Linked DNA regions of Homo sapiens: region 1 is linked to region 2. The links are contacts of gene promoters, found by promoter capture Hi-C in blood cells and fetal thymus (Javierre and others, 2016). All regions are on one chromosome and are shown on one strand. The core of a region is centred on a gene start or on the middle of the fragment in contact, and the rest is flanking DNA. Distances in the headings are between cores, read along the strand shown.

The links. Contacts are between HindIII fragments. The CHiCAGO score rates a contact against its expected background, and 5 or more counts as called.
Region 1: a fragment that was not itself captured here is called in contact with the fragment with the promoter of ABCB7 in region 2 in 6 of 17 cell types (naive CD4 T cells, non-activated CD4 T cells, activated CD4 T cells and 3 more); the score reaches 8.1 in naive CD4 T cells.

The regions. Positions count from the first base shown.
Region 1 is chrX:75,518,510-75,521,980 of GRCh38, forward strand. The region is part of intron 1 of ZDHHC15 (zDHHC palmitoyltransferase 15); the gene reads right to left. Among named protein-coding and RNA genes, the nearest start is that of ZDHHC15, 2.8 kb to the right of the region's middle. The HindIII fragment of the contact is 1,436 bases long and covers 750-2,185 here.
Region 2 is chrX:75,154,459-75,158,057 of GRCh38, forward strand. It overlaps ABCB7 (ATP binding cassette subfamily B member 7), which reads right to left and starts at 1,825. Exons shown (of 16, transcript NM_001271696.3): 1 at 1,647-1,825. The coding sequence starts at 1,814. It also overlaps a transcript of UPRT not described here. RefSeq lists an enhancer at 1,506-1,935. The HindIII fragment of the contact is 6,846 bases long and covers 1-3,599 here.

The DNA of each region.
Region 1 (3,471 bases), core at 218-2,717, 360 kb after region 2:
GAACCCTTCTGTGCTGCTTGATGGGAATGTAAAATGGTGCAGTCACTGCGGAAGATAGTTTGGAGGTTCCTCAGAAAGTTAAACATAGAATTACCATACAGTCCAATTATCCCCATCCATCTCCCTGGTGTATATACTCAAAATAATTGAAGACAGATATTCAAACAAATACATGAATGTTTGTAACAGCACTATTCAGAAGAGACAAAAGGTAGAAATAGCCCAAATGGCCATTAATGGATGAATGGATAACAAACTGGTATATATATATATATATATATATATATATATATATATACACACACACACACACACACACACACACACACACACACACAATAGACTATTATTCAGCCATTAAAAGGGATAAATTACTGTTACATAATATAATGTGGACCAATTTCAAAAACATTTTGTTAATTGGAAGAAGTCAGACACAAAAGAACACATATTTTATGATTCTATTTATATGGAACATCCATAATAGGTAAATCCATAGAGACAGAATGCAGATTAATAATTGGCTAGGACTTGGGGGAAGAGGGAACAGGGAGTGACTGCTTAATGCTTATGAGGTTTCTTTATGGGATAACAAAAACATTTTGGAACTACATAGAGGTGATGGCTGCACAACATTGTGAGTGCTAAATGGCACTGAGGCGAACACTTAAAAATGGTTAATTTTATGTTATATAAATTTCACCCCAATAAAATGGATACTGTTACTTTCCCTCCTCTCTAAAAAGCTAAGCTTCTTATTTTCCTGGGTCAGGAAGAATCCTTTATTTCTTTACTAATCACAAGTTACTATCTAATGAGCTCTTATAATGTGTTGTGAACTGTGATGCATGCTTTTCAGGCATCATGTTATTTGAGCCTCACAGCAGTAATACCTGGCATATACTGAGTGCTAAGCAACCATTTGTCATATGGATGAACAACTGTAGAAGCAAGGTACATGTGAGACAACTGAGGTTGAGAGAGTGAAGTTACTTGCCCCAGGTCTCCAGGCTAGTAAATGGCAGAATTCAAACTCTAAGAATTAAAGGACAAAAACATCTCTTTTGGTTTCAGCTCTAATGTAACGTTAGGGAGAAAGACATCAGGTTTTATCCCTGGAAAGAAGTTAGGTCCTTAATGTTACTTTTTGAGACATATTGAAATGCAAATTTGTTAATTTATTTGTGTTGGAAAAGGTATGGCCTTGGTATCAGGCAGCCTGGATTTCCAACTCTTCACTATTACTAAATGTGTGGCCTTAGGAAAATTTGATTTAACCTTTCCAAAACCCAGGTTGCTAATTTGTTACAAGATTGTTAAACTGATGATGGCAGGAGGGACTGGTTCAGCCAGAGTTGAAAGTCAAAGCTGCCTTATTCTCCTGACTTTTAAATAATGGGAACTGATGCAAAATGTTAAGAAAACACTGTGCAGGCCAGGCAAAATATATCTGAAGGCTACATCTGGCTTGTATGTCACAAAGTTTTTACCTCTGCATTAGTTTAGAGGAGACTGTGGCAACATACTGCCTGGGTTTTAAGTTTGGCCATTTACTAGCTCTGTGACCTTAGGTAAGCTACTTATTCTGTCTGTTCCTCAGTTTACAAACAAGTAATGATAGTATATACATTGGAAAGTTGTTATAAAGATTAAGTGTCTGTGTGTGTAGTCACCTAGAAATAGTACTTGGCATGTAGCAGTGTGGTGCAAGTATGTTAACTAAAACAAACAAATAAGTCCTACGCTTCCTTTCATCTGTTAATATTACATGACTAAAGAAGAACTTATAGAAGGCCAATTATTTGCAGTAACTTGGTCTTTACCTTGGTTTGCTCATCTGTGCCTCAGTTTACACATTTGTACAATGGAAACAGTAATGGTACCTGCCTCATATAGTTATTGTGATGATTAAATGAATTAATATATAGTTAATCTATCTACAGAACTTAGAACATTTTCTGGCACAGAGTAAGCAATACATAAGTGTTAGTCATTATCATCATTAATTTTTAAAATATATCTTGGTGAAGCTCATATGAGTCAATACTGAAAAACTCCAAAATAAGTTGTTTACAATATGGCATTGATCCTAGGAGCAATGTCCATACCATAATAATGGTGCTGAACTTTTGACCCTTCAATCAATCATTCAAAAAGCCAAAGTAGTAAGGTCTGAGAATAGAAAAGCTTCCCAGTCATTGCATAGTCTACTTAATGCATCCCAATACTGGATTGAGATACAAAAGAAAACTAGGCTAACTTGTATCTATGAAGGCAACTAATGACATTTATTTTAAGAGCTCTTTCTGCATTTTCCATAATATCTCTAAGGAAGAGGTAAAAAAAATTCCAATTGTGATTCAGAGAGGTAATTAGAATTAGAATATAGGAAATTATAGAATTAGAATATAGAAAGTTCTATATTGGAAAAGAGGATCATCTCCTGCCTCCCTAGTTTATCCCAGTCTACCTGGGGTAGACTATTGCTTTGCAAATATGTAACAGAAGAAAATTACAAATGGAGTCAGGTCCCGGAGTTCAAAAAAGCAGCATCCTTACCATCATTTTTAAGGTGAGAAGAGTTTGGTATGAAAAAATAAAGAAGTCTCAGAAGGACTTGGGAGTGAGGGGATGTCCAATGGGTCAGGAGTCCTACTGTGAGAGGAGTATAAACATATTGGAGCCCCAAACTAGATGAATAGGGAACATTGTAGGCCACAAGTTTAAGGGTGCTGGCGATGGAATTACAGTGTCGAAGTGACAAGACTGACAAGTATTAGTGGAATCTCTTTTGAGAGGAGACAGGGATTCTTCAATGTGAGAAGACAGGGACAAGGGGAGATTTTACTGTGAGAAAAGCAGGGACCCTATTGTAACAAGACAGGATATAATATGAAAACGCCATTGTGAGTTGATGAGAGCATTGCAAGGCCAATAATAATAAGAATGGGGAACGGGGGGAATTAAAGTGGAAAGTGGGAATAATATAAGGGAGAGACTTGGGGTTTGTGTCGGGAAATATTGTAGAATTCTGAGTTTGAATGCACAAGCTATACTGTGAGAACCATTTTGCAAATAAGGAGGATATAGAGTGCTCCTTAGTGTGACAGGACAGGGTAAAAAAAGATCATAGAATTATAAAAGGGGTAGTCTAATGAGAGGGAATGAGAAATGATATGCCCATTGGGAGGAGTAGAAAATATTAGAAACCCCAGTAAGAAAGAATGGGGTTTCCCCAGTTTGAGAAGATGGGACAAGTGCAATCCAATGAGAAGTAAGAAGAAATAATAATAAGAAATCCCAAAGGAAGTGGATGGCAGAATGTGGGGCTAAAAGTGAAAGAACACTGTGGGAGGTGGGGAGTGGGTTTCCTAAAAAAGATAACGAGGAATAATGATTAGAAAAGTAGCGGCCCTTTGATGGAATAGGAGATAAATTACGGAAACCCTTGTGGGAGGGTAAAAGAGGTGA
Region 2 (3,599 bases), core at 575-3,074:
AGATCATGTGTTAGAAACTTTCAACCATAAAATACTTTAAAAACCTTAATGAAATCATCTAGATTCGCTTCGTTAGCCTAATCTGCTATTTCCTATCTTGAATGACTCACTACAGTCTAAACTACGTGCAGTTCTAGAAAAGGTCCATGTTCTCTCTGACTTGTGGGCCTTTGCACATGCGATTCCTTCTTTAACTGGCTAACTTCTAATTTTTCAGCTCTTGCCTTAGATATCAGTTACTTAAGGCAATCTTCACTACCTTACAATTAGACTTAATACCCCTCACATATACTGTCCCATACCTTGTACCTTTCCCATTATTACACAGCTCCACTATATTTTAATTGCCGATTAATTTACATATTTCCCACTAGATTTTAAGCTCTTTAAAGACAGGACTTATATTTTGTTTGCTCCTGTAGAGGTGTTCAATAATTACTGAATGAATTATAAATGTCATTCCATCAGCCTTCCACATGCTTAGTGTCATTCCCTATTCTCCCTGTTCAGAACATTCTCCCCAGTTCTATCACCAGCATGAAATACTCTTTATAACCTGGTCCTTAATTATCACTATTTCCTCTGGATGCCTATAGCCTTTATTGTACATACTATTCATTTGCTAATTAACCCACCACTGTGTTTTTCAGTTATTTTTGTAATGCATAGATCCAATCTCCTTAACTAAACTGTACAATCCTTGAAGGCATAACTGTATGTCTCTCTTAGTACCCTATCATCTAGCACAGGGCTATGTACAAGGTAGACGTTAAATATTTGTAGATGAAGAATCAAAATTTAAGAGGTTGTTTCTCATACAAAACTGACAATATTTTAAAGTGATAGTGATAAATACGTGGTGGCAATTAAACCTCTTGTCAATACACAGAAAATAAAAAGATATACTTTAGTACAGTTAAGTACAAATAATTTTTTAAAAAACCGTTCCTGAGTGAGAGGTAATAATGGACTCAAATTTTAGGAGGCACTACAACCATAGCTACATTCATAAGTTAAGGATAAGTAGCCTATGGCTTCCAAAATGACCTGTGCACAGAGAACATCACTGTATTTTTCAGATCTAGGACAGTCATATTTATACAAGAATTTAGGGCGGTCTATGTTTTGGAAAGATAGTTACGGTTTTGGCCTATCAAGAAGCACGCCTGTCAGCAAGGGAGTTAACTGGCGCCACCTGTTTATAGATAGCTTGCTGTCATTACAGTGCTCTCCGAATTGCTAATTCCAACTGAGTAAAATCTGAACCACAGATAAACTGTCCCAAATTCCATTACTAATTGGGGAAAATAATCCAGTCTTCCTCGTCTTTAGAAAGGCAAGCAGGCTGGGAATGGTGTCTACCCCAACTCTTAATATGAGAGAAAAACTATGACTCCGAGAGCCTCCAGCGCTCCAGGTGTCCTCTGCCCAGAACCTCCTGCCCCGTTTCCCTTTGCTGAACTCAAAGGTTTTCTTCTTCGCCCTTTCCTCAAATTACTGACGTTAATTTCCTTCACTTACTGCTGCTCCCAGTTAGCCATGACTTTCTTCTTGGTGCTCTCTCTGCCCCGAGGTCAGGAGGGCAACCTTTTCCCTACAGGTCCCCTTGCCCTTCACCCTATTCTTCCATGTCAGTGGCATCTCACCTGGTAGGCTCGAGCGGTTCCCAAGGCGCCGAGTTGATGTGGCCTCCACTGCGGACCTGAGCCGCTAACAGAGACTAAAGGCCGGATCAGAATCGCGGAGTGCCGGCGCTTTTCGAAAGCAGCCGCCGCGGCCGCCCAGCGCCAAGAATGCATCGCGAGCAGCGCCATCTTGAGCGAGGAAAGAGGAACCGAGAGAAGAGGATTATGGGACACTGGCGGACTGAATTCGGCTACCTTAATTGTCTCTCCTCTTCTTGTTTTCCCAGGGCCCCAGACCGGAAATGGATTCTGTTTGAAGATTCGGATGCATTCGCACAGCCTCTTTTATTTGTTTTTCCTTAGGGCCGAGCTTTGATTGTTTTCCTTACACAACCGGGAATATTGGAGTAACACTGTATTTTTCTCTTTTCCTGGAGTTGCCAGATGAAATACAGGATGCCTACCTAGTTAAGTTTCAATTTTACATAAACAACGAATCATCTCTTCGTGCGTGTGTCCCAAATATTGTATCTGCTAAATCTGTCAACCCCATCTTGTCTCTCATAATACTCTCTTACCTCCTCCAACTCAATGTCACGCTCCCCTCTCTCCATTTTCCCTATGCATATTCTTATCTTCACTCCCTTCTGAATTAAGGAAAGATTAAACTACAGACGTTAATTTCCCCTGGGAGGAGGCTTCAGCTGTAAGATTTACTGCTTTTCTGTCCTGTAAGGACTTTAACTTTGCTGATTGTTCTCTGTTGCGCAAACCTTGGGGCAGTTTTCCTTTGGTCTGTTGCTCGTGGGACAGTCTCACACACACACACACACACACACACACAGAGAGACTACAGACATCTTTACTAATTTTGTCACTCTTTCTAGCTCTTCGCTTTGGTTTTTGCAGCGTCCCTAATTCTTGAAAAATCGCTTAGGTTGGCTGAAGGGTGGTAAAGTGAAATGTATGGAGAGAAGACCATGTTTAAAGACAGGCTTATATTCTTTTGTCACCACTATTATCAAACAAAATGTCAAAATATGTTTACAGTTATCTAGGAAACTGCATTTCCAGTTGTAAATGTTACCTGAAACCCCGGAGACAATAATGCAGTTGCAATTTTATATTCACTGCTGCATTCTCCAACTTTTCACACAAAAGAGACAAATAATTATGGACTTCTTATGAAGAGGTACTTTGGACTAGTAAGTCTGATAAAGAAAAACAGAAATCTGTAGCCCATGCAGTTAGCTTTTTTGTTCTGGGATTCATTCAAGGGGATGCTTGAGCTAGTTATTTAAAGAAAAATAGAATTCAAGTTGAAGAGGTTGACTGGAATTACACGTAAAGAAGATGACATGTTAAAAGCAAGAAGGCATAAGAAAATATTTTCAGGTTCAGGAGTCTATGGAGTTTGGGAAAGTAGTAGGAGGTTAACCTGAGTGAACAGAGACCTGATGGTAAAGGGCCTTCTATTTCATTCTAAGAAGTTAATACTTTATCCTATAACCAGTGAAGAGTTTTAATCAGGAGAGTAACATGATCAGATTTATATGTCCATTAAGCTACTCTGGCTTAAGTGAGAAGGTTGGATTGGACGGAGTTCATATTGAAGTCATGAAGTTAATGCAATAGTTCAGTCATAAAATAAAGGCCTCAACCTAGCAGTAGCAGTGGCAGTAGATCGATTGCAGGGCAATTAGGAGATGGAATTGGCAAGACTTAGTGACTAATTGGATGTTTCTAGCTTATTATTGTATTGTTGACAGTAGATCAGTAATGGCTTCATATTAATGACTATATTGTCATCAACAAATATTTATTCAGCATCTATTCTGTGTTAGACAGCTACAGTATACATTAGAGAAACTCTAGACTCTACTAATGATTTCTCTTAGGGCTGAATATTGCCACTGAATCTTACCACCCAGTTGTAAAGTCTTTGAATGGAGCCAAATTATTTTTTTCCAAAAG